Regions from separate parts of the Homo sapiens genome. Here regions 1, 3, 4, 5, 6 and 7 are each linked to region 2. Evidence: promoter capture Hi-C in 16 types of primary human blood cells and fetal thymus (Javierre and others, 2016). All regions are on one chromosome and are shown on one strand. The core of a region is centred on a gene start or on the middle of the fragment in contact, and the rest is flanking DNA. Distances in the headings are between cores, read along the strand shown.

The links. The method cuts DNA at HindIII sites, captures the fragments that hold promoters and counts their contacts. A CHiCAGO score of 5 or more calls a contact.
Region 1: a contact is called between a fragment that was not itself captured here and the fragment with the promoter of METTL9 in region 2, in 1 of 17 cell types (total CD4 T cells). The highest score is 5.9, in total CD4 T cells.
Region 3: a fragment that was not itself captured here is called in contact with the fragment with the promoter of METTL9 in region 2 in 2 of 17 cell types (total CD4 T cells and naive B cells); the score reaches 6.2 in total CD4 T cells.
Region 4: a contact is called between a fragment that was not itself captured here and the fragment with the promoter of METTL9 in region 2, in 4 of 17 cell types (naive B cells, naive CD4 T cells, total CD4 T cells and 1 more). The highest score is 11.6, in naive B cells.
Region 5: a fragment that was not itself captured here is called in contact with the fragment with the promoter of METTL9 in region 2 in 1 of 17 cell types (neutrophils); the score reaches 5.3 in neutrophils.
Region 6: a fragment that was not itself captured here is called in contact with the fragment with the promoter of METTL9 in region 2 in 2 of 17 cell types (fetal thymus and non-activated CD4 T cells); the score reaches 5.8 in fetal thymus.
Region 7: a fragment that was not itself captured here is called in contact with the fragment with the promoter of METTL9 in region 2 in 2 of 17 cell types (neutrophils and erythroblasts); the score reaches 5.2 in neutrophils.

Annotation. Positions count from the first base shown.
Region 1 is chr16:23,124,655-23,128,567 of GRCh38, forward strand. All of the region lies in intron 1 of USP31 (ubiquitin specific peptidase 31), which reads right to left. Among named protein-coding and RNA genes, the nearest start is that of USP31, 23 kb to the right of the region's middle. The HindIII fragment of the contact is 3,160 bases long and covers 729-3,888 here.
Region 2 is chr16:21,597,435-21,600,932 of GRCh38, forward strand. It overlaps METTL9 (methyltransferase 9, His-X-His N1(pi)-histidine), which reads left to right and starts at 2,143. Exons shown (of 5, transcript NM_016025.5): 1 at 2,143-2,464. The coding sequence starts at 2,300. It overlaps LOC101927814 (a long non-coding RNA gene), which reads right to left and starts at 1,951. Exons shown (of 3, transcript NR_110930.1): 1 at 1,222-1,951; 2 at 200-325. RefSeq lists a silencer at 2,130-2,749 and an enhancer at 2,858-3,422. The HindIII fragment of the contact is 7,148 bases long and covers 1-3,498 here.
Region 3 is chr16:23,090,200-23,093,927 of GRCh38, forward strand. USP31 (ubiquitin specific peptidase 31) reads right to left here. Exons shown (of 16, transcript NM_020718.4): 7 at 425-605. Among named protein-coding and RNA genes, the nearest start is that of USP31, 57 kb to the right of the region's middle. RefSeq lists an enhancer at 3,397-3,728. The HindIII fragment of the contact is 465 bases long and covers 1,620-2,084 here.
Region 4 is chr16:23,059,021-23,062,662 of GRCh38, forward strand. It overlaps USP31 (ubiquitin specific peptidase 31), which reads right to left. Exons shown (of 16, transcript NM_020718.4): 16 at 2,386-3,642. Among named protein-coding and RNA genes, the nearest start is that of USP31, 89 kb to the right of the region's middle. The HindIII fragment of the contact is 4,022 bases long and covers 1-3,642 here.
Region 5 is chr16:23,558,379-23,562,069 of GRCh38, forward strand. UBFD1 (ubiquitin family domain containing 1) reads left to right here. Exons shown (of 7, transcript NM_019116.3): 3 at 1,090-1,298. Among named protein-coding and RNA genes, the nearest start is that of UBFD1, 2.5 kb to the left of the region's middle. RefSeq lists an enhancer at 1-234. The HindIII fragment of the contact is 3,053 bases long and covers 666-3,691 here.
Region 6 is chr16:23,151,257-23,155,110 of GRCh38, forward strand. No RefSeq gene overlaps it. Among named protein-coding and RNA genes, the nearest start is that of USP31, 3.7 kb to the left of the region's middle. The HindIII fragment of the contact is 3,636 bases long and covers 603-3,854 here.
Region 7 is chr16:23,442,215-23,445,786 of GRCh38, forward strand. COG7 (component of oligomeric golgi complex 7) reads right to left here. Exons shown (of 17, transcript NM_153603.4): 3 at 2,834-2,950; 4 at 263-431. Among named protein-coding and RNA genes, the nearest start is that of COG7, 9.2 kb to the right of the region's middle. The HindIII fragment of the contact is 7,262 bases long and covers 1-3,572 here.

The DNA of each region.
Region 1 (3,913 bases), core at 1,059-3,558, 1.5 Mb after region 2:
GAGATGGGTGGATCACCGAAGGTCAGGAGTTCAAGACCAGCCTAGCCAACATGGTGAAACCCCATCTCTGCTAAAAATACAAAAATTAGCCAGGTGTGGTGGTGGGTGCCCGTAAGCCCAGCTACTTGGGAGGCTGAGGCAGGAGAATTGCTTGAACCCGGGAGGTGGAGGTTGCAATGAGCTGAGATCATGCCACTGCACTCCAGCCTGGGTGACAGAACGAGACTCTGTCTCACAAAAATAAGAAAATAAAAAAAACCCTAGAGTATCTACGCATCAAAGGCAAGCTATAAAACAATCAGACTTGCAAAGCTAGACCCAGTGAAAGTGTAGAGGTGGAACGTACTTCTCATCAGCACTTAACTATGGTGATATTTTGCAAGATCCTTTCCACACCTCTCTCCTACCAGCATCCCTTTCTTATGTCCCAGACCTGCTGTCACAGGCTGGGTTGGTTGGTGTGTTGGTTGGTTGTTCTTGCTAAAATGTTTTCACCACTCAGGTGTAAAGGAGTCAATGGTTGTTAAACACCACGATCTGTGAGGATGGTATTACTATGTGGCAATGAAAAGGAAAATATGGAAACTGAGGCTCAGTGACCTGCCCAAGATCTCAGCTGCACTAGGAGTCTCACTACATTCAAAACTCATAGGCTCACAGATTTTCAAAAGGAAAAGAGTAGCCTCTGACCCTGGATGCCCTCCACCTCCCTCAGCAATACCCTCTGAAGCTTGACAGAATCCGGGAAGGGGTGGGGGCAGCTACAACAGCTTAACCAGCTGCCTGACATCACAATAGAGCCTGAAGGGTAACTAACCCCTTCCTCCAGCTGGATATAAAATAAAAAGCAGCCAATACTCCTTTCTTTCCCATCTGAAGGGAAATGAAGCTACTCTCCTTTCTTCCTGTCACTATTAAAATTGTGAAATCATTAACTAGTAGATATTTTCCACGAGCTGTTGCTTTTAAAGGAGTTTGTCCTTTTCCTTAGCTACCCTAGTTTATTATAACTTTCATGACACAAAGACTCTAAAATGAGGAAGATTTACCAAGTTGTCACTGTACTGTTATAAAGGAACTCTTATTTTTAGAAGATTAAAGAACTTTCCAACTTAATGTATCTGTGTAATTACTGGGAGCAACTCTGGTCAGGGAATAAGTTCTTACTATTATTCTTCTCCAGCTACAGAGAGCCATAACCTTCAAATAAAGAAAGCGTTGAATTTCCTTCTCTAGAGTTTGGAAACAGCCTTTCTCTGCTCCCATCATTGCTCAAAGTAAAGTAAATAGAGAAGTTAATTCCCTGCTCATTCATTTGCTCATGAATATGCACACAAGGGTCACGACTAGTTACTATGGGGGTTAAAGGGAATCATAGCAGCCATACACAGTGCCTCATGCCTATAATCTCAGCACTTTGGGAGGCCGAGACGTGAGGATCACTTGAGGCCAGGAATTCAAGACCAGCCTAGGCAATATACCAAGAATCTGTCTCTACAAGAAAAAAAAAAAGTTTTAATTAGCTGAGAGTGGTGGCAGGCACCTGTTGTCCCAGCTACCACAGAGGCTGAGGTGGGAGGATTGCTTGAGCCCAAGTTTGAGGCTGCAGTAAGCTGTGATCGCACCACTGAACTCTAACCTGGGTACAGAGCGACCCTGTCTCTTTAAAAAAAAAAAAAAAAAAAAAAGGCTGGGCGTAGTGGCTCACGCCTGTAATCCCAGCACTTTGGGAGGCTGAGGCGGGTGGATCACAAGGTCAGGAGATGGAGACCATCCTGGCTAACATGGTGAAACCTCGTCTCTACTTAAAAAAAAAAAAAAAATTAGCTGGGCATGGTGGCGGGCGCCTATAATCCCAGCTACTTGGGAGGCTGAGGCAGGAGAATGGTGTGAACCCGGGAGGTGGGGCTTGCAGTGAACCAAGATCACACCACCGCACTCCAGCCTGGGCAACAGAGCAAGACTCTGTCTCAAAAAAAAAAAAAAGAAATAAAAAAGGGACTCAGAGAAGTAAAGGTCTACACAGAAATACCTCTGTCTCCAACTATAAAACAGAAATTGTAACACATGCATCTACCTTACAACATTATAAGGAGCAAATAAAATAATCCACTGTGCAGGGCATGTGATAAGCACTCATACGTTAGCGACACGAAGAAAAGCAAGAGGAGAAAATTATCCATAGTGTGCTACCATTTATCTAAATAAGAGAGAACATGAATACACACCCATATATGAATACACACATATATTAATATATACCTATACATACTGCCTTATATTTAAACAATGAAAGAATAAATCATAAAATTTAGGGAGAAAGGCAATAGAGTGGAAGGATCAGAGACAGAGCTAGATTTCTGAATAGATCTTGTTTTGCAGATTTGACTTCAGCCATATATTGTATTTTTTAATATAATTATGATGCAACAAAATCAAATTTAGGATAGGAACCAATCTATCAAAATCAAAAGCAAAAAAAGAAACAAATTGACTAGTGTGGTGGCTCACTCCTGTAATCCCAGCACCTTGGGAGGCCAAGGCAGGATGATTGCTTGAGCCCAGGAGTTCGAGACCAGCCTGGGCAACATAGTGAAACAGTATCTCTACAAAAAATAAAAAACTAGCTGGGCATGGTGGTGAGCACCTGTGGTCCCAGCTACTCCAGGGACTGAGGATCACTTGAGCCTGGGAGGTAGGCTTGCAGTGAGCTATGATCGCATCACTGAACTCCACCCTGGGCGACAGAGCAATATTCTATCTCAAAGAAAAAAAAGAAAACCTCATTTTAAAAAAGATTAAAAAAGAAACAACTGATTTTTTTTTGAGATGGAGTCTCACTCTGTCGTCCAGGCTGGAGTGTAGTGGCACGATCTCAGCTCACTGCAACCTCTGCCGCCTGGGTTCAAGTGATTCTCCTGCCTCAGCCTCCCAAGTAGCTGGGATTACAGGCACCTACCTACCACTGCGCCTGGCTAATTTTTGTAGTTTTTTTTTTTTTTTTTTGTAGAGACGGGGTTTCACCATCTTGGCCAGGCTGGTCTTGAACTCCTGACCTCGTGATCCACCCGCCTCGGCCTCCCAAAGTGCTGGGATTACAGGCGTGAGCCAACGCGCCTGGCCGAAACAACTAATATTAACTATATATCCAGTGATGACAAAACCACATAGAGAACTATTCCAAGTAACTTTAAAACACAGTAATTTGTACCATACGGTCCTAGTAGAATATATGCTATGGACAAAAAAACTACCAAATAAGTCTTAAGCCATTTTCAAATACTAACATTGTTGGTGGCAGTACTGGGATTATTATTCTGAGACTTAGGAGCATACTGTGGGATAAGGCAAATGAGAATTTACGCTGGTGTTACAAGTAGGATTTTCAGCATGGGAGGAACAAGCCACAGATACAAGACCAATGAGGGTCAATAAAACCCCGAAGCCCTGTATTGGAATAATCAATGTGAATTCATGATTTAGCTTTAAAAGAAATCACTCCTTTCTTAGAAACCATGTGCATCCCTCATGCCTCAACTGTGGTCTCTCAGTACCGCTGTACCAAAGGAACCTGATTCCAGTATCTGGAAATGACTAATTCCAGATCTGGTGCAAGAAATGATGAGCCTGGAACATCTTAAGATCCTTGCATTCTCGTTTGACATGCCAGGCTACTAGTACAGTCTCAAAACGACTTGAGAGTCGACTTGTCCCACTGGACAAAAATGGGACAATTTTGAGCATCAATAAGGTTAAAAACTATAACTGACTGAATACATCAAATATGCTTAAACCCATGAGCTCATAAGGTTATAAAAATTCACTAAACACAACTGGAAATCAAGTAATTATTTTGAAAACTGAAAAATAAAGGAGGGGGAAAAATCAAGCTTTTATCTAGCCTTTCTTCTGA
Region 2 (3,498 bases), core at 893-3,392:
GTATGAGTGATTTATTTTTCTAGGCCAGCTGCTCAGATATAAAACAAAATCTGCTCCTTTGAGCTGTTAGGCTTCGTGGCAGTCAACTGACCCCAAAATCCTTCTGACTACAGCAGCCATCTACTTGCTTGTTCATCTGATAACATTTTGCAGTCTCTCAGCTACAGCTATGTGGTCTCACTCTATAGCTGGGGCATACCTTTTTGTCTCCTTTGTCTTCAGAAAGGAAATATGCCATTTTATGCACTCCTGCTGCTTTCACCCCCACTTTAAAAAGATGAAGGCTTCCTTTTGTGACAGAGTTGCTTTGTCTGTTACACTGATCCTAAGAGACAGGAAGGAGAGGTGTCATAGTAAATAAACAGTTATTGGACTTGCTACCATAGTTCCTTTTTGATGACTTGGGCCAGGACCACTAGAGGTTTGAACTAGATTTAGTAAGGCTTGGGCTTTTCGGGGTTTTGGCAGGAAGCAGTCAGGGAGTATATTGGAAAGAGAGAACACAAAATACCGAACCCCACCCACCCTGTGCCTTTTTGTTTGTTGTTACAGCCTGTTACATTAGGCAACAAGATATCCTTGTTAGCCAAAGGTGCCAAGCTGAGATTCTTAAAAGCTAATGAAAGAGCTGTTGGGCCAGGTGCGGTGGCTCACGCCTGTAATCCCAGCACTTTGGGAGGCCGAGGCAGGCGGATCACGAGGTCAAGAGATGGAGACCATCCTGGCCAACATGGTGAAATCCCGTCTCTACGAAAAACACAAAAATTAGCTGGGCATGGTGGCGCGCACCCGTAGTCCCAGCTGCTCGGGAGGCTGAGGCAGAAGAATTGCTTGAACCCGGGAGGCGGAGTTTGAAGTGAGCCGAGATCGAGCCACTGCACTCCAGCCTGGAGACAGAGCGAGACTCCACTCCGTTTCAAAAAAAAAAAAAAAAAAAAGCTGTTGGGTAAGGAATGATTTTGTTCCCCATCTGTGGCTCACCACCCCACTGTTTCATAAATGAAAATCTCTGATGTGCAACGCTGAATTAACCAAAAGGCTTACTTCTTTTGTTTTGAACTTAGACACATTTACATTATTTCTGGTGCAGTTAAATTAAAAGCACTTTCCAAACAAACCTAGGAAAGTATTAAAGTTAGGGACTCCCACGAAATGTTACTCCTTAATTGTGGCTTGGATAATAGCAGGAAGAACTGCAGACAGGAACACAGTGTAACTAACCCTTCAGTTCTGAAATGTTGCTAGGTCTCCTCGTGTTATAAATGATCAAATAAATATCCGGGTTAAACACTGCTCCCAGAGCTGAGTTCACTCTTAAGAGTGTTGGGTCCAACTTCCCTGTGCTAATTCAAGGAAACAAGGCAGCCAAGGAGTCTAACTTGAGGTCTTCATTCTTGGGCAGGGCCATCAATACATCTAAAACATTACTTGTGGGTACCCCAGCTGCGGTAGCTTCCCCAAAAGGCAGAATTTTCACTCATTCTTTATAGAAACACGTAGCCAGCAACTTCTCAGGCTTGGGGAACGGGGCAGGCGGGTCGTGGTGGTGGGGAGAGTAGAGGAGGGAGTCTGGCAGGTCGGTTCTAAATGTAAACTGGAAACTACGCATCCGAGCGGGCAACCATCACTGGCACCATTCGTCTCCGGGAAGAACCTGTGTGTGTCAGGATGCACGAAAGGAATGACTCCCCTCTTTGCGCCCCCGGGGTTAACTGCACGACCCTGTCAAAGTCCCGCCGTGGAGTGGGATGAGGGTCGAGAGGTAACCCTGTCAAAGTCCCGCCGTGGAGTGGGATGAGGCGAGGAAAGACTGGAGGTCCTTCCAGCACCACCTTGGAGGGGCAGGGAGGCTGCAGTTACCGCCTTCGGAAGTGATCTCCTCAGCCCTCAAAAAAATTAAAACCACCTCCGCCATTTACTAGAGGCCAAGGCAGGGCCGGGACACGAGAACGCGCTCCGGGCGGATGCGCGCTCCCTTTGTCCCGCCTCCCAGCGGCCCGCTCATTGGACGGAGGGAGGGCGCCGGGGGAGAAAGCGACGCGGCCGCTCGTAAGTGCTCCGGATGGAAACTGGTGCAGGGGGCAGCGGCGTTCCGCGGCCGGAAGGGAAGGGGGAGGTGCCGAGGCTGCGCGCCGGCTGCTCCTCCCCACCCCCAGCCTTTGCCCTGAAGGGGGCTGGATGGGCAAGGCGGCCGCGATGGCTCGAGCTCGGGCGGTGGCGGCGGTGGCCGGAGGCGGCGGTGCCTCCTCCTCCTCGCCCCGGCGCCGGCGGTGATCCGAGCGAGCGGCCGCGGCCCCCGATGAGACTGCTGGCGGGCTGGCTGTGCCTGAGCCTGGCGTCCGTGTGGCTGGCGCGGAGGATGTGGACGCTGCGGAGCCCGCTCACCCGCTCCCTGTACGTGAACATGACTAGCGGCCCGGGTGGGCCGGCGGCGGCCGCGGGCGGCAGGAAGGAGAACCACCAGGTACGGGCTGGGGCCGGGGCCGGGGCGGGGGCGTGGCGGCCCGGCCTTCCCGCGCTGGGCCCGGCTATTGTGCGGGACGGCTCCGCGAGGGGGCGGCCCGGCCCTCGCCCCTCCGCCTCGGCCCCTTGGAAAGTTTTCCCCGCGCCTTCCCCGCCGGGCGTCGACTCCGCGAGCCCCGGGCACCCGGCCGCGGCCCCGCGAGCGCCTTTTGTTCCGCAGCGCAGGCGGGGCATGGCCTCCCGGGCCCGATCGTGAGCGGCCCGGAGCCCCGCATTGTTCCTGGGTCCCGGGCGGTGACTGCGGACGCCCGGCAGCGGGACTGGGGAACTTTGGGGCCAGAGCGTGGCTGGGGGCGCCCGCCTGGCACCGAGGCCTGAGACTGAAGAGACCCGGCCAGATCCATTACCCCGAGAAACAAAACGAAAAGCCAGCCCCTCTTGTTGTCTCGTTGAATCCCAGAACGTACAAAGGGTCGTGAAGAAATGTAACTGTACATCGCAAGCCATTGAACTCTCCAGGCTGATTGGGGTGACATTTCTCCCTAAGCACTTAAAAAATGGGTTTGACAGGTTGTCGCTCCCATCCTACGGAACCTTCCCCTCCTACCTAGCAGAGATCTCCTTTAAACTTGGATTTAGTCAGCCTGCTAGAAAGATTGTGTGTGATGAGGAGGAAGATTATGCAAGTTTTACAGGAAGGGTTTTTAAAACAGAACGGGACGGGAGGGAGTTTTAGTTATGCATCGTGAGCGTTACGCTGTGACCGGGTAGGTAGGCTTTTCATTAGCTCAGTCTTGCGCCACTTAAACGTGTACAGGTTAACTGTAGAATTAAGTGAGATATTTCGTATATGACCTTAACATAGTTTGCAGTTAATGTTAAATTCATTGAAAAGAGGCTTTTGAACTCTGCCAGAGTGTTGGCTTGTCATAGCTAGCATTTATAATACATTTTGCTTTTCCATAGAGTATTAATTATTCCCTATATCATCTTGTGTCTCATCATTTTCATATATTTCTCATTTTCCTACATTAC
Region 3 (3,728 bases), core at 602-3,101, 1.5 Mb after region 2:
CATGGTGAAACCTCATTTCTACTAAAAATATAAAAAATCCGCTGGGTGTGGTGGCTGGCGCCTATAATCCCAGCTACTCGGAAGGCTGAGCCAAGAGAATCGCTTGAACCTGGGAGGCAGAGGTTGCAGTGAACCGAGATCGCGCAACTACACTCCAGCCTGGGCAACACAGCGAGACTCCATATCAAAAAACAAACAAACAAACAAACAACAACAACAACAACAAAAAACCCCAGATTCCTAATTTTACTCTCCCCCGACCAACCCCCCAAATCAGGTCAACTTGTACATGTATTCTTTCTAAATATCAGAATCAAAAATTAACTACTAAAAGTAAGAACTTTTTGCCCATGCTTTTTAACATGTTTGAAAATACTGAACTGTTACAGTCTAGGTACTTACTGGAAAATAATCTGGTTCTCACCTTTTCCCTTGTTGCCCAGTGCAGGCTCGGTTACACACCAACAGGACAATCTTGTCGCTGCCTGCTCTTGATGTGGGAGAATCCATTTTCCCCTGCTTTGCTGCTGTTTGTGTAGGAGAAGACAGTCTATGATAATCCAAGCCAAATTTCAAGTGGTTTAGGTTGTTGTTTAAATGAATTCCTGAAACAGAATAAAAACAACTCATTTTATCTCTTCAAAATTATTTTTATTCACTCGTTATGAAGAAATTTACCCAACAGAGAAAATTTTTTTTAAAAATGTCATTATGTAAATTAAACTGCAATCAAAAAAAGAAACATCCTACTTAGATTACTCATCTAGCCGTTAGAGAATTTCTTTAGCATCCATTATTATTTCCTTTAAACTAGCCTTACCTATCTTAAAAACTGAAAATTAAAACTGCACTTCAGTGAAGGTTAGATACAGTTTTAGAAGGGCATGTGTGCTGAGATGATTCACCAAGAAAATTTAGTGAGGTCATGCAACCAGTAATCAAACAAATTTTTAAAAAATAAAGATGTGGAATGTTCTTCAATATTCAATAGCAGTTTCTTCTCCCTGATTAAAGAGCCAGACTTATAAGAAATAAAAGGTAAATTACACACTACACCTACTAGACTCAGAGCCATCAGGAGAATCTTCCAACTTGGAATACAGTCTACTAGACTGGATCAATCCACATTAAAGTTAACAAAAATATATATTTGACAGGCACAGTACTGATCCTCCCAAATGCCCCAAAGCAGAGCTCCCTGTCAATCAAAGTACCCAGCAACTCAGCACCCAGCACAACCCCAATAAATGCCTGACTACCTGTTCATTCCTTTAATCCTTTGGAAGCACAGCCTAGGGAAATGACATCCCAGCTGGAAAATAGAAGAAACCCCTCCTGCCACCACCATTAATAATAATACCACCAGAAAGAGAATAAAATACAAATGGCCTACACAAAAGTATTTATAGCAGAATGCTGGCAATAACCTCAATACTCAGCAATCTAAGACTCACTGAACCTATTAAGATACCTCAACATTATAACAATTTAAAATGACAAAGTACATAGTTAATGCCAATATAAATTCCAGATAGAGTTTAAAAAAACAACACATACAAACTAGAAATAAGAAAAAAGCTGAATCTTTGTCAAGCCACTAGAGGGAAGAAAACTTTTTAAGCTTAAACACCATAAAGAAATCACAAAAGGAACAGGAGTAGATCTTACTTCCTAACCATTTTAAACTCTGGTATGAGAAAATAAAAATAATAGATATCTGAAGTTGAGACAATAAACTCGTTTCCCAGGTTCTTGGCAGAGGTAAGGGTGGGAAGATCTGTTCTCCTAGAATAGATGTGGACTCCTGACGAGATAAGGGGATGCCACATTGTCAACTGCACAGAAATCAAGCTCTGTGTTCAAACTGTGGACCCATTTACTGCCAGCTGTGTGAGCTGGGAGTGGTTACTTCATCTCCAAGTCTCAGCTTCCTCACCAGTAATGTGGGGAAAGCAGTAGCCTCATTATATATTGAATAAAACATCTGTTAAGGCCTTAGGATAGAGGCTAACGCAGACTCAATAAGGCAGTCTCTGGCTAGAATACAATAACCTTTGGATTCACCAAATTCACTTATAAATAGAAGCTTAGTGTTAACCCTAAGCAACTGGGGTGGGAACAGGATTTTGAGAAACTTTCAGTTGAACAAACATTACCTGGGCTCTTGCTGCATATTAAGAACTATATTGCACTGCTGGGTATAACAAGATAAAGCAAAATGTGGCCCCAGCTCCAGAGAACTTCACAGTGTGGTGGGAAGGACAGAGAAGAAAACAAATCATTTCCACATAACACGCTGGTGTGAGAGATTAACAGAAGTTAACTGCCCAGAAGAGCAGGAGTTCGCCAGCCAGCCTGCAGGTAAAGGGAGTGAGGAAAGGCTCTCTGGACAAGATAATTTAGGTATTTTTTACTGTAATGCAATAAAACTAGAAACAATCCAAACAAAAACACATACAGGGAAACGTAACAACTGGAAAAGAAACACAAACAAGCACCTGGGTCAAAGAAGAATAAGTGAAATAATAGACTATCTAGAAAATATTGTAAATATGAGTAGACCAGAGAAAACTGAATTGTAAGCTGGCATTGGAGAAAGCTGGCCAACCCAATATACAGGATCACCGAAAGAATCAGAAACTGGAGGTGCCAGAGGCCTCTGGAAGTAGAGGGTAAAGTAAAAGAGGAATTAAAATAAGGACTTTCAACAAGAGCACCAAGACCATTCAATGAGGACAGTACAATCTCTTCATCAAATGGTGCTGGGACAAGTAAATATTTACTTGTCCCAGAATGGAGTTTGGTCCCTACCTCATACAATTTATAAAGGTTAACTTAAAATGTATCAACAACCTAAATGTAAGAGCTAAAACTACAAAACTCAGAAGAAAACACAAGAGTAAATCTTTATGACCTTGGATGTGGTGACGGATTCTTAGATATGACGACAAAATTATGAGCAACAAAAGAAAAAACAGACTTCATCAAAATGAAGAACTTTTGTACGTCAAAGAACACTATCAAGAAAGAGAAAAAACCCAGAGAATGGAATAAAATACTTGCAAGTCATATATCCCATAAGGGTCTAGTATTATACATCCTTACAAAGAATTCTTACAACTCAACAAAAACAACTCAACAAAAAGATAATGCAATTTAAAATGGGAAAAAGGCTTGAATAGACATTTCTCCAAAGAGAATATATAAATGGCCAAACAAGCACATGGCAAGATGTTCATCATCATTTACTATTAGAGAAATGCAAGTCAAAACCTCAATGAAGTAACACTTCACATTCACCAGGATGGCTAAAATCAAAAAGATGAAAAATAAATGTTGGCAAAGATGTGGAGAAATTAGAACTCTCATCTATTGCTGGTGGAAACGTAAAATGATCCAGCTCCTGTGGAAAACAGTTTGGCAATTCCCAAGAAGACAACCATAGAATTATGATATGATCCATCAATTCCATTCCTAGGTACATACCCAAAAGAACTGAAAACAGGTATTCAAACAAATACTTGTACACAAATGCTCATAGTAGGACTATTCATAATAGACAAAAGGTAGGAAAAAAACAAATGCCCATCAATAGATTAGTGGATAAACAAAATGTGGTACATGCATATGTATGTATGGAATACTGTTCGGCCATTAAAAAGGAATGAAGTGGATCCGTTCCAAGATGGCCGAACAGGAACAGCTCTGGTCTGCAGCTCCCAGCATGA
Region 4 (3,642 bases), core at 716-3,215, 1.5 Mb after region 2:
CAGGCAAACCTCCCCGCTCTCATGTAAGCTCACCCATCAGCTCACATATGACCTATGGTAGTTGTGATAAGTGATATGCAGAAAATAAAATAGGGAGTACGGACAGCGTGTGAAGCAGGTTGCAGTGTTCTAAAAAGGTAGTAAGGGAAGGCCTCAATAAGGTGATATGTGAGTAAAGATGTGGAGGAGATGAGGGAATGAGCCAGGCTGGCATCTCGGAGAAGAGCATTCTAGGGACGATGCCTTGAGAAAGAGCAGGGAATAAGTGGCAAACTTGCTGAAACGTTATCTGTTGGCCAACCTGACCTCCTGACTGGCAGGTGAGCCCCTCCAAGTGTGGTCATAACCCCAGCAGCTGGGCACACAGAAGACATTACTAAATGAAGGAACCTGGACTCCGATTCTGAGTGAAACAGTAAAGGGGCACCTTCCTCACCACAACTTTTGTGGACTTGGAACCCTGAGGCTGGTGCCATTCATCCTCAGTCCCCAGTGCACAATCCCCACACACTGTCCACTCCAGACTCTCGGAGAGGAAAGACGTATTACACCCTTTTCCCTGTGTCTCTGGAACTGGATCTGTGCACTGTGGGCCTCTCTGGAGTCCTCCTAAACAAAGGGAAGGCACAGGGGTGGTGTGCTGGAATGCAAGATCCCTGAGACCCCACCGGGGGCAGGGAGGCCTGATTCCAACTAGGCACTGCAGTCTCATTTGCACCATCTTCTCACGTTTCACAAGAAAAATGGAGCTGTTAAGACATCCAAAGAGCAAGTCAAACTGATATCAAATCCCTGAAAGCTCTAAGAAACGAGTGCAAGGCCATTGGGTTATATGGCATGCAAAAATGCACCACCAAGGGAGAGGACAGCCCTGTCCTCTGTGTATAGCAGGTGTTGGCAGAGGGTGAAAAACGTAGCTAAGACCAGACCAAACCAAGACCGAATTCCAGAGGGGTTTGCAGAAGGTAGACCCAACCCACCCAGCAAGGTGAAATCTACCAGATGACCCTCGTGGAGAAGCCTGAGAAAGGAACAGGGTCGCAGAGAGGAAACCTGAAGCATCCATCTGGGAGAACCCAGGAAGGAGTGAAGAGCAATGGAAAGTGAATGTATTAGTAAATCGAAGTGATTAACCGTTCAACGTTATGTTAGATGATGTACACAGAATTAGAACATATGACACAGAACCCAGCTGGGAGAAAGGGGATACTGGGGTGGGGGAGGACCTCAAGCTACATCCCACGGAGTCAGAGTGGCCTAGAATCACCCACGGGGCAGTTTAACACACAGGAACATGCAGCTCTGGGCAAGGGGTGTTATCACACCTTTGCTTTCTTCAGGAAGATTTACAGGGACCCGAAAAGTATTCAGAGAGACGTTGACCATTCAAGTATTGAAAGATAATCTTCCAAATCCTAAGGAGACAGGCAAAATGATCCTTAAATATCTGCATAACTATTAAATCTACATATTTTATGACATGTGAACACTTTGTGGCATAATGAAGCCTCTTGAATAATCAGCGTACTACATGGTTAAACTCTCTAACAGAACCTAAGCGAAATCTTACCATTTCAAATTAGAGAGCTTCAGAAGTGCTGTACCTAGCACGGCATGTGGTTCACACTTGTCAGGAACATCAACTCCCCCCACCCCAACCCTAAACCATAATGCTGTGCTTTAGGGAAACAAGATCTGTCCTGATCTGTACTCAACACTTTCCGGGAACAAATGATGGCTGGTGGCACTCCCCTAAACAGAAACCCCTGTTCACTGATACCGTATTCCCCAACTCATACTGAATAAACATTTCCACACTCAGAGGCTAACCACCTGCAGGCTGGACTTCTAAAATGCATAAGAGATCTTTAGTGCCCCCACGTGGCCATAGGTGATGTGACATCCTCAGTAGGGAGTTCTGTCCTGAAGGGTGGGAAAGACAGCTGGAAAAATGTTGTTTGTATCAAAAATATTAAATATCTAGGGTATGAGACAGCGCAGGAAGAATGGCCCCTTTTATACTGCTATTTCTTCCCATCATAAAAGTTTGGTAAGAGGGGGAAAATAATGCGAAATGTTGAAAATCTGTTGGATTGAACCAGAATGTGAGTTTTTGTCCAGTTCCATGGCCCAGGACAAACTGTCTCTAATCCGTCATGGAGGAAATGGGAAGAACCATCCCTGATTGTGAAAATTATACAAGCATGGATGTGATTTTTTGTTTTAAACTTTTACACAGAAAACATATGTATACATCTTTCTGTAACTTGTGTTTTAAACACTGCAATTTTAAGGCATTTTGTAAAGACTGATGCAGTACAATTATTATTATAGTCAACACCAAAAAGATATCAGTTGGCAAGGGGGAGAAAGGAGAAATGTGGCTTGAAGAGGACATCTTGTAATAAATTTATTGTATTTTGTTACATTTTCCACTTTTCTCTTAATTCCAACTGTATACTATATAATCAACGCTGTTTCAGAAATAAAACGTTTCAAACGTAAAAATATAAATTCTGCTTCTTAAAAGTGCATACACTTTGAATAATAAAACATACAAATAAATAACAGAAATCAGTGACACATCTCATGCACTTGTTCTAAAATAAATTTAAAATGTACGATACACTTTTCTTCCAGCCTCTAGGAAAGACATCCTGCCTTCCATATTACTGTACAACTGAAAATGAAAACGACACAGAAATCACTATCCACGGTGCATGAGTAATACCAAAGCACTTTGTGTACAGTGATGTGACATGCAGCTTTCAAGACAACTACAGAAATTCCAGTGTAAAAACTGAAGAGTTCAATCAAGAAACGACTTATGTCAATGAGGCTTAAATTCAATTTTAACCAGTGGTGAGAGGCACAGTTGGTGAGCAGACCTCTATGGAATGCAAACACGTATTTGAAAGGCCTACAAAGAGAACTCCAACTTCGGAAATACTGTAACTGCTTTTGCATTTGGTATGACACCACACCGTTTATAATAGCACCTAGGAAATTTCATATTGCATTTGGACGACTGCAACAGATATCATTATTCTGGATGGCCTTTCTAAAGAAACATTTCCAACTTGCATGTCTACTTGTATCTTCATTCCTTAAAATGTTGAAAACACCAGGTAAATTGTGGTGTTTTGTAGGCAGCATGAGGCTCGACAGAATGAAACCATCAGATTACTTCGAAGGTGTTGTAGTGCATTCAGCTCACCACAGATTAAAACTAAATTTTATTTGCCTCCACAGTTAACACAGAGTGCCAAATTCTGGGATGTGTATTACTTAATGGTAAAACAAACAAAAAACAAAACAAAACAAAAACACGAAAAAATAGCAATAAGGGTTTTTTTTTTTTAAAAAAAAGACACCAAAGAAAATGTTTCACATTCATTTTCAAACTAAAAAAAAGAATTCCTGAAACCACATTCTGGATAAGAACTATCCTAGAGAATGAGCAAAAGTAGGAAATTCAGCGGCAGCCTGGGGTTTGCTACTGTAATTCCTACAAAAAGGCAATAATTCTATCAAAAGCAGGGACAGGCTTTCCAAGGCTAGGAAGGTTGTTTCTTTTCTTCTTCGACAATTTCTAGCTCAGAGTGACTTCCCTATTCCCCCACGGGCCTGGGGAAAAGGTTC
Region 5 (3,691 bases), core at 942-3,441, 2.0 Mb after region 2:
CCCATCCTTACAGCAGTCTTCTGAAGGATACTTGGATGCCCATTACTCAGCTGGGGAAAGAGACTCAAGTTTATAGAGCTAGTAAGTTGCAGAGCTGGGATTAAAGCCGAAGTCTGACGTTTAGGCCCCAGTTTCTCATTGATGTTGCTCTAACATCTCTAATTAAAAAATCACCTAAGGCGCTTGTTTTACAGCTTCTGGGCCCTTTCCCAGGAGATTCTGATTCAGTGGGTCTGGGATGTAGCCAGGAATTTATTTTTAGCAAATATCTTAGGTAATTCTTCTAAGTGAAGTTTAGGAAACGCTGCTATTGACTTTGATGCTGGTTCTTCACAGTCGATTCTGTTTCTTAATTTTACCTTGTTCATAGCTCTTTGCCATCTGAGATTTCTTTTCTTTTTCCTATTTTTTTTTTTTTTTGAGACGGAGTCTTGCTCTGTTGCCCAGGCTGGAGTGTACTGGCACCATCTTGGCTCACTGCAGCCTCCGCCTCCCAGGTTCAAGCGATTCTCCTGCCTCAGCCTCCCGAGTAGCTGGGATTACAGGTGCCCGCTACCCCGCCGGGCTAGTTTTTTTTATTTTATCCACCCACCTCGGCCTCCCGAAGTGCTGGGATTACAGGCATAAGCCATCACTCCTGGCCTTGAACTTTTTTTTTTTTTTAAAGCTTTCTACATGTAGCCTTGTAATCTCCATTAAGAACAGGAGTTTTGTCCCTATTGGCTTCTGTAGCTCTGATGCCTGTGGATTCTCACTTAATATGTGAATGATTTAGATGACTGAGGAACAACTTGGAAAGAATGAGAGCTAGTACTTACTGAACAATTATTCAATGCTAGCCACCGTACTAAATGCCCCGCATTGGTCTCTTAATCCTTGAAACAGGTCTGTACAGAAGGACTTACTCTAATAAATCTTCTACAGTTCTAGAAACTGAGGTTCAGAGGTTGTAAATCTCCCAAGTTCACAAAGCTAATAGGTGGTGGAGGCAGTATTCACTTTTTGGTCTGTTACCAAAGAGCTGTGTAGTATCCATACATTTTTCTGTCCTTCCTTCCTTTCACTGTCCACCTTCTACCTTTTCCCAAGGTCTCCCGCCTGCCATGCAGAAAGTCATGTATAAGGGACTCGTCCCCGAGGATAAAACATTGAGAGAAATAAAAGTGACCAGTGGGGCCAAGATCATGGTGGTTGGCTCCACCATCAATGATGTTTTAGCAGTAAACACACCCAAAGATGCTGCGCAGCAGGATGCAAAGGCCGAAGAGAACAAGAAGGAGCCTCTCTGCAGGCAGAAAGTGAGTCCATCTTGTGCTTCTTGGTCTTGAGAAATTTGAGGCTTTGTCCTCTTGAGCCGTGGCTGGTTATATTCTCCCTAGAATAAGCTCCTTTTTGGACAGGGCCCATGATGGAAATTTATGGCAGCAGTTGGGTGCCGCAGAGTGGAGGTGACAACTACCTGAGATTTGCAACTTTGTCTCATCTGGCGGGTCAGTGTGTCTCAAGTCTACCTACTTTAGGATAAGACCTTGGTAAAGGGAGGCTTCAGACCATGTGTTGAAAGGAATCAGACGTGGGTTTCTCTCTCTTATTTAGTGCCAGAGAAAACTACCAGTACTAGAAGTAAGCCCTCATTTTGTACAAGTGCTTACATTTGGCTTTTTGGTTTGTGGCTTTCCCCAAGTCAACAAGCCTGGCTAGGCATGGAAATCAACAACTCTCGGAGGTTCCCCTAAAGCTGACCGTTTCAGGAAGCTAAATGAAGCTGAGTAGGAAGACAACTACACTGATGGATTTGTTTATTTATTTTTTTGTCCTGATCTGTGAAATAGGAGCTTGGTTTTTTACGTTCTCTGTTCTTTTGGCTGCAAGAGATCCTGCCTTGTCTTGTGCTCATCATAGCCATTAACATTCTTTCACGTAACGAGGAAAAGTGAGATTATTTTACTATGGAAGGAACAGGTTGTAAGAATCATTACTTGTTATCTTTTTACCTGGCAAATTATACTGATTGCTGTGTAGCCTCCTGATCGTTCTTCCTAGTGTTCCAAGGAAGACAGGTATTCTCAACTGTGTCTGAAGTAGAGTAGATAAACTTCAATCAACATCATTTAGTGACCATAGACACTAAGATATATGACCAACAGTAAGAAAAGGACACAGTTTGTGTTACAGATCCATAATCCCCCATGTGTGCTTCCAAAACCCCAAAGGAGTATAAAAACGAGAAGTGTTTTTATAAATTTAACAGCAAAACCTGACCAGAATTAGTGTGAATTTTCCTCTTTGGTGACAAGGTACTGCCCCAGACCCCACAGAGAAGATTGTTATGTATTTGAAAGCAATATTATCTTTATAAAAATTCCAAAACCCTGAAAGTTCAAAACTCTAGGGTTTCAGATAAGGGGTTATAAACCTATATTAATTATCTAAAAGGTGTTGATTTGGAGACTTCACCCCCACATATGGGGTCTCAGTGTCTTGAAACCGATTGAGTTTCTTCTCATATTCCTGTTTTTCTTTGCCACATGTATGAAATAGTGAAATGTGAGCACGTCAGATAGGAGTGGTCGCAATGGTCACACCCTTGGAGCATAACATGCCTCCTAAATACAGGTTTTTAGTTACTAATGGTAGCTTAACAGGCTTAGAACTGTTCTCCACAGTACAGGAAATCTTGTTCAAAAGGTACTTGAAAGGTGTGACTCGAATTGTACTTCCAGCCCATGCTGCTGTGTTTCATTGAGGCCAATTATGATGCATCACATGACCTAATGAGAGGGATATAGTCCCTTGCCTTTTTACCAGCTTATTAAGGGGTCTGGGGGTGATGTCTGGAGTGACTTTTTGCTAGCAGTCTGGCAGTGCTGAGTTTATTCCTCCCAGAGGGATTCCACCATGCCAGTGAGGATTTGGGCTGGCTTGTGGCTGCCTAGTGCTTACATTTGATTAAATTGTTACCTTCTATCCATTCATTGTCCCCTAGTTCCAGCCTTCCAAGCAGTGGCTATGCCTATAAGGCCACAGATGGAGAAGAAAGAAGACTCAGGCATTTGGGCCAGGCAGGAGAACTGTTTAAGGGGCCCTGAACTTAGAATCCTTGAAGAGCTGCCTCAGAGTTCTTGGGGCAGGTGGTAGGGGTGGAGTTTAGAGGCTTCTTAATGTCAGGTTATAGAGTAATAAGCATTTCTTTCTGAAAGGTGGCTCTTCCAGGTTCCTGTTTAGCTGGAGTTAAGGGTAGGGCAGTGGGGAAAACTTCGGCGATGGGCTGGGTCTCCATTTGTTGAAGAACTGCTCCTCCTAGGCAGTTAGACGGATTACCAGCATCTTATAGTGTTCTCTGGAAGTTTAAGTTGAAAAAGGTGGGTGCCATTTTTTGTCTGCTAGGAGAGCAACACCCTTTGTCGCCCTCTTTAGTTTGATGGTTTAATCATTTCAGTGGTGATTTTTTTTTTTTTTTTTGAGGGGAGGAGGGCAATCTGGAAATCCCGTTTGCTGTAGAACTTTGATATCTAATATGGTAGCTATCCACATGTGGCTGGTTAAAATGAAATTAAGAATTCAGTTCCTCAGTCATAGTAGCTGCATTTCAAGTGTGTAATAGTCACAGCAGTAGGTAGTGGCTAGCACAGGTACGAACATATTCGCCCTCCCAGAAAGTTCTGCTGGACAGCACTGTGCTATAGTTTCA
Region 6 (3,854 bases), core at 1,171-3,670, 1.6 Mb after region 2:
CATCTTACTCATTATTCGGTACCCAGTAAGGTAGCCATTATATAACAGGTTGATTATTTGGCAACTTTATACCTAAACAATGTCGTGTGTGTGTGTGTGTGTGTGTGTGTGTGTGTGTGTGTGTATGTGTGTGTGATGGAGTCTCACTCTAACAACCAGGCTGGAGTGCAGTGGCGGGATCTCAGCTCACCTGCAACCCCCATCTCCTGGGTTCAAGCAATTCTCCTGCCTCAGACTCCTGAGTAGCTGGGATTACAGGCACTTGCCAGCACACCTGGCTAATTTTTGTTTTTTGTTTTTTGTTTTGTTTTGTTTTGTGAGCAGCAGCAAGATTTATTGTGAAGAGCAAAAGAATAAAGCTTCCACAGCGTAGAAGGGGACCCGAGCGTGTTGCCCTAATTTTTGTATTTTTAGTAGAGACGGGGTTTCACCATGTTGGCCAGGCTGGTCTCGAACTCCTGACCTCAAGTGATCCACCTGTCTCAGCCTCCCGAAGTGCTGGGATTACAGGCATGAGGCACCGCGCCCGGCCTCTAAACAATATCTGAACTTCTTGGTGGGATACCTAAGAACTGCCTTCCCAGTCTGGGCCCCTCTCACTAAGCTTACAGGTCTTATAGGTCTCCACTGAGCCTCAAAGTTTGACACAGGCTTGAAAAAATTCCTCATTGGAATGTTCAGATGATCATTCTTAAAGACTCACCTTGAACATTCTGTAGTGAATCTTTCATTGTCCCTCTCTGTACCACCCCTTACCCCTAAGCTCGGGAAACGTAAATTAGAAACAACAGTGCAGTGAATATTATCATGACCTATACCTTGTCCATCATGTAGCTATCTCCTTAGGCTGAAACCTTGGATCAAAGGGTATGCGTATTCCATATATGACACCTATTGTCAAGCTGACCCCCAGAAAGGTTTTATCCTGTCAGCAACTAATGGGAAATGCACATTTCCCAATCCCAACATACTGTTGAGTTTTCCAGTCTTTTTCACATTGACAAGTTTGATGAACAAAAGATGGCATATTAATGCACTTTTTGTTTGTATGAGTAAGGTTGAACATCATGTGCCAGTCTCTCTGCTATCCAACATCTCAACCAACTTCCTGTCTGCAAGGGATACCAAATTAGGCAGGACCACTCAAGATCCCACTATGAAAACTGGGTAGGGTGGCAGGGAGCAGGTATTCCCCTTCCTACCCCTGGAAGCTAGAGCCCAGGAACATGACCTAAAAAAGACCACCGCCGGGTGCAGTGGCTCATGCCTGTAATCTCAGCACAGGCAGACAGAGACGGGAAGAGTTTGAGACCAGGCTGGGCAACATCACGAGATCCCGTCTCTAAAAAAATAAATAAATAAGCCTGGTGTGGTGGTGCACTTCTGTAGTCCCAGCTACTCAGGAGGCTGAGGCGGAAGGATTACTTGAGCCTAGGAGGTGGAGGCTGCAATGAGCTATGATCGTGCCACTGCCCTCCAGCCTGGGTGACAGAGCAAGACCAACTATATGTTCCTACCTAGACTTTGGCTCTAGAAGTATTGATACACGGTTCGTTGGAGATAATGCAGTGAATTAATGAATCTAGCAGCTATATATTTAGCAGTGTGGCAGTACGGTGGTGTACAGTGTGGGGGTGGTAGCAGCAAGTGTCCAGCTGCTACTCTAGTGGCAAGTTCTTACTGGTGTCTGTGTCCCTGGGTTTCTGCCCAAGCCTGTTTCTCTGGCTCTGTTCTTTCTGTGAGCTAACCTGATAGGTTTCCTGTAAATCCTTTATTGGGGAAACAAACCAGTGTCAGTTTCTGCTGTTTGCAATCAAGAAAACAACTAGGAATACCTTTTAATTAGCGATTTTATTTTTACTGGTGTGATTCACCTGCACACACCATTTGCCCATTATTCTTTTCGGTGTATTCCTTTATAGATATTATCTCGTAGAAGTTTTTTGTTTGTTTGTTTTGTTTTTGAGATGGAGTCTCACTCCATCGCCCAGGCTAGAGTGCAGTGACATGATCTCAGCTCACTGCAACCTCTGCCTCTTGGGTTCAGGCCATTGTCGTGCCTCAGCCTCCCAAGTAGCTGGGATTACAGGCATGTACCACCACGCCCAGCTGATTTTGTACTATTATTATTATTATTATTATTATTTTGAGACAGAGTCTTGCTCTGTCGCCAGGCTGGAGTGCAGTGGCACGATCTCAGCTCACTGCAACCTCTGCCTCCCGGGTTCAAGCGACTCTCCTGCCTCAGCCTCCCAAGTAGCTGGGACTACAGGCACGCACCACCACACCCAGCTAATTTTTGTATTTTTAGTAGAGACGGGGTTTCACCATGTTGGCCAGGATAGTCTCGATCTCTTAACCTCGTGATCCGCCCGCCTCGGCCTCCCAAAGTGCTGGATTACAGTCGTGAGACACTGCGCCCAGCCAAATTTTTGTATTTTTAATAGAGACAGGGTTTCACCATGTTGGCCAGGCTGGTCTTGAGCTCATGACCTCAAATGATCCGTCTGCCTTGGCCTCCCAAAGTGCTGGGATTACAGGCATGAGCCACTACACCTGGTCCATAAAATTATTTTCTATATAAATTATATTATTTTTCAGTCTATACCATTCCCTACTTCCCTTTCAACCATGTTTACAGTGTTTTCATATCATATACAGAACTTAAATTATTATTTTTATTTTATTATTATTTTTGAGACAGGGTCTCACTCCATCATCCAGACTGGAGTGCAGTGGTGTGATCATGGCTCACTGCAGCCTTGACTTCCCGGGCTCAAGCGATCCTCCCACCTCAGCCTCCTCAGTAGCTGGGATTACAGGTGCATGCCACCACGCCCAGCTAACTTTTTGTATTTTTAGCAGAGACAGGGTTTCATCACGTTATCTAGGCTGGTCGCAAACTCCTAGGGTCAAGCCATCCACCCACCCAAGCCATCCACCCGCCTCAGCCTCCCAAAGTGCTAGGATTACAGGTGTAAGCCACTAAGCCCAGCCTAAATTATTTTATATAGTGAAACAGATTAGTCTTTTTCATAAAGATTTACAATATTTTTGACATACTTAGCCTTCCCCCACTCCAAGATCATAAGAATATTCATCTGTATTTTAATTTAGTGCAGTTCTGGGTTTTTTTCTTATTATTATGCTCTCCATCTGGAATTTATTTTTGCATGAGAAATGAGATAGGGATCTTGCCTTTTCTGCATGCTTCATGGCTAGCCAATTGTCTCAGCACCATTTTTAAATGTAATTTTCCCACTACTTTAAAATGCTGCTTTTATCACCTATTAAATGCCCCGTATATTTAAGATTTTTAAAAATTCTGTTCTATCCCATTGATAAGCCTCTGTATTCCAGGATAGCATAGGTTTAGAATATGCTGAAATGTTTGATAGAGCATTATCTCCTAGTATTTTATTATCTGTCTGTTTGCTTATTCTCTCAAATGAATTTAATCCTTTAGGGGGGTTAATTTATATAGATTAAGTGAGGGAAAACTGGCATCACCACAATATTTATCTTCTCATCTGAGAATAAAGTCTGTCTTCAAAAAATTATACAAGGGCTTTTAATGCCCCTCCCAGTACTATAGTTTCCTCCCATAGGTCTTGCATAATACTAATAAGTTTATTCCTATTGGTTGCTATTATGAATGGGATATTTTATGTCATTATATTTTCTGTTGTTTGTCTACAGGAAAAAAAATATTTTTGTAACCAGCCACCTTGATGTACTTTAGTTCTTTCTCATAATTTTCAGTTGATCCTATTGGGTTTCTCAGGAATTTATATCAACACATGAGATAAAAACCTCGCCACTTTGTTTATAATAGTTGTACCTCATCTTTTTTT
Region 7 (3,572 bases), core at 1,073-3,572, 1.8 Mb after region 2:
TCCCAGCTACTCGGGAGGCTGAGGCAGGAGAATCACTTGAACCCAGGAGGTGGAGGTTGCAGTAAGCCAAGATTGCGCCACTACACTCCAGCCTCGGTGACAGAGAAAGACTCCGTCTCAAAAAAAAAAAAAAAAAAAATTACAGAGTTCCTTCTAATCTATGTAATTCAATCACCATTAAGACATTCTAAAAACTGAAGACTTACAAGGCCTTATCTTTATAGAGAGATATACACAGAGATGAGAAGCAGCTAGCACTCACCTACAGCCTGAGAGGTGAATGCCGCTACAATCTGTGGACTGGCTAGGGCCTCCAGCCTGTTCTTCAGTGCCTCCAAGTGCACACACTTTTCTGAGTAGTCTGGTGTATCAACAAGCATCATTAAGCTGTTCTGCATACCTGTTAGCTTGGCAGAAATCACAGCTATGTCCTAGAAAAGACCAGAATAGAGAATATTTATTTTAAATGATCCCTACTGCCTCAATTGGGAATAGATAAAATACATGAAAAGGCAACTCATCAAGTATGAAAATGGGGCTGGGCATCGTGGTGGTTCATGCCTGTAATCCCAGCACTTTCGGAGATTGAGGCAGGAGGATCCCTTGAAGCCAGGAGTTCAAGACCAGCCTGGTTAACATGGCAAGATCCAGTCTCTACAAACAGTAAAAATTAGCTGAGTGTGGTCATGCGCACCTGTAGTCCCAGCTACCCAGGAAGCTAAGGCAGGAGGATCACTTGAGCCTGGAAGGTGGAGACTGCAGTTAGCCAAGATCACACCACTGCACTCCAGCCTGGGCAACAGAGAAAGACCCCGTCTCAAAAAAAAAACAAAAAACCTGTACTCAAATAAATGCAAATTAAATTAAAACAATAAAGTGTCATTTTCCTCCTAACAAATTGGAAAAGTGTTTGAAAAATTATAATAGCTATTGTTGGTGAGGGTACAAAGAAAAAAGACAATCTGGTATCATAAATTTAAATTTATACTGTCTTTCTGGAAGGCAATTTAGCAATATGTGCTAAGAGTTTTAAAAATATTCACATCCAGGCTGGGCACAATGGCTTATACCTATAAATCTCAGCATTTTCAGAGGCTGAGGCAGGAGGATTGCATGAGGCCAGGAGTTCAAGACCAGCCTGACCAATATAGCAAGACCTTGTCTTTACAAAACATTTTAAGAAATTGGTCAGGCAGCCGGGAAGGGTGGCTCACGCCCCTGTAATCCCAGCACTTTGGGAGGCCAAGGCTGAAGGATCACCTGAGGTCAGGAGTTTGCAACCAGCCTGGCCAACATGGTGAAACCATCTCTACTAAAAATACAAAAATTAGCCAGGCATGGTGGCGTCCACCTGTAATCCCAGCTACTCGGGAGGCTGAGGCAGGAGAATCGCTTGAACCCAGGAGGCAGAGGTTTGCAGTGAGCCGAGATCATGCCACTGGACTCCGGCCTGGGCAACAGAGCAAGACTCTGTCTCAATAAATAAATAAATAAAAGATAGATTGTTGAGTGAAAAAATAAAGTGAAAAGCAGTGTTCACAATGAGCTTTGTGAGGAAAAAAAGGGGCAGGGAACATAAATATGTATGTGCATATCTGGAAGGATGGGCATAAAGTTGATAACAGGGCTTGTCCGCACAAGAAAAATTAGCCCCCGGCCGGGCATGGTGACTCACGCCTGTAATCCCTGCACTTTGGGAGGCCGAGGAGGGCAGATCACCTGAGGTCAGTAGTTCAAGACCAGCCTGGCCAACATGGTGAAATCCCATCTCTACTAAAAATACAAAAATTAGCCGGGTATGGTAGTGCGCGCCTATAATCCCAGGTACTCGGGAGGCTGAGACAGGATAATCACTTGAACCCAGGAAGTGGAGGTATCATGCCACTGTACTCCAGCCTGGGCTTCAGAATGAGACTCCGTTTCAAAAGAAAAAAAAAAAAAGAAAAATTAGAGGACTAAGGTGGGGGTCAGGGTTAGGAAAAAAACTTATTTTTTGCAGTTTATTCCTGTGTAATAAATTTGTTCCCATGTGCATTTGTAACTTTTTAAAAAAACTGACTGATAAATCATTCATTTTGCTTTACAATTGAGTAAGAGTTCTTCATAAGACATCATCTTACTTCATCCTTACATCCCAGGTGGAAAATGTTACTATTTTCCACACTTTGCAGCCTCAGAAGGGGTCAATAACCCACCAAGTCCCCAAGGTATATAAGGCTCCCCTTTCCCCATGTTCCACCCTCTCGTCCATTTACCCCCAACCTTCTCTGCCTGTGCTGGTTTTTCTTTTCTTCTTCTTTTTTTTTTTTTTTTTGAGACAGGGTCTTGCTCTGTCCCTCAGCATAGTGGTATGATCATAGTTTACTGTAGCCTTCAACTCCTGGGCTCAAGAGATCCTCCCACCTCAGCCTCCTGAGTAGCTGGAACTACAAATGTGCAGCACCACACCTGGCTAATTTTTTAATTTTTTTGTAGAGACGGGGGTCTCATTATTTTGCCCAGGCTGGTCTCAAACTCCTGGCCTCAAGTGATCCTCCCACCTCAGCATCCCAAAGAGCTGGGATTTCAGGTATGAGCCACAGTGCCTGGTGCCTGTACATCTTTATCAAGGCTTCTCTTGAACTCATTCTGTGACTAAGAGGCTTCAGTCACACAGAGGGTGCAAGCTAAAGAGGCTGGAAACACACCGAGCAGCTTCAGATCTTCCCCACCCTGAGTCTGAAGGTTTCTGAATGCTGCTATTGGCTATCAACTTTGTATCTCTTTTGCTTTCTCCAAACCTCAAGTTCTTGCTTAAATACCTTTCATAACATCCCCTAAACAAGAAACCTACCTGAGTCTTAAATGTCTCCTCAATATCGGCGCTCAACGTGCTCCACTTATCTGCTTCCTGAAGAGATTCGGCAGCAAGTTGCATTCTGGACTTCACTTGGTCAATTTCTACCAACACCTGAAAGAGGCGTGAGGGGTGAAAAATGAAGGGGTAGGTCCTTTTTCTCCATCTGCCACCAGGGACTTGAAATGTAAGTATGGTGGCTTGCTTCTGTCTTTAGGGAGCTTCTGTCTCCCAAAACACCAATCATCTGGCTAAATTTATTCAGCAGTGCTGAAGAGATGAACCAGCTGAAAGACCCAAGCAAAAGCATAGTTTCGGGGAGCCAGGCACAGTGGCTCACGCCTGTAATCCCAGCACTTTGGGAGGCCAAGATGGGAGGATCACTTGAGACCAGGAGTTCCAGACCAGCCTGGGCAACATGGTGAAACCCTGTCTCTACTAAAAATACAAAAATCAGCCGGGCATGGTGTTGCACGTCTGTGATCCCAGCTACTCAGAAGGCTGAGGCACGAGAATCGCTTGAACCTGGGAGGTGGAGGTTGCCATGAGCTGAGATCACGCCACTGTACTGCAGCCTGCACTCCAGCTACAGAGCGACACTCTGTCTCAAAAAAAAAAGAGCATAGCTGGAGTGCTGGGCAGAATCTTGAGTGATGGTTGGCCTCCCAAAACACCGTGCTGTTCTAAAGCCCTTACGAGAGTGACCACCTTCCCAAAGCAAGAATCACCATTTACA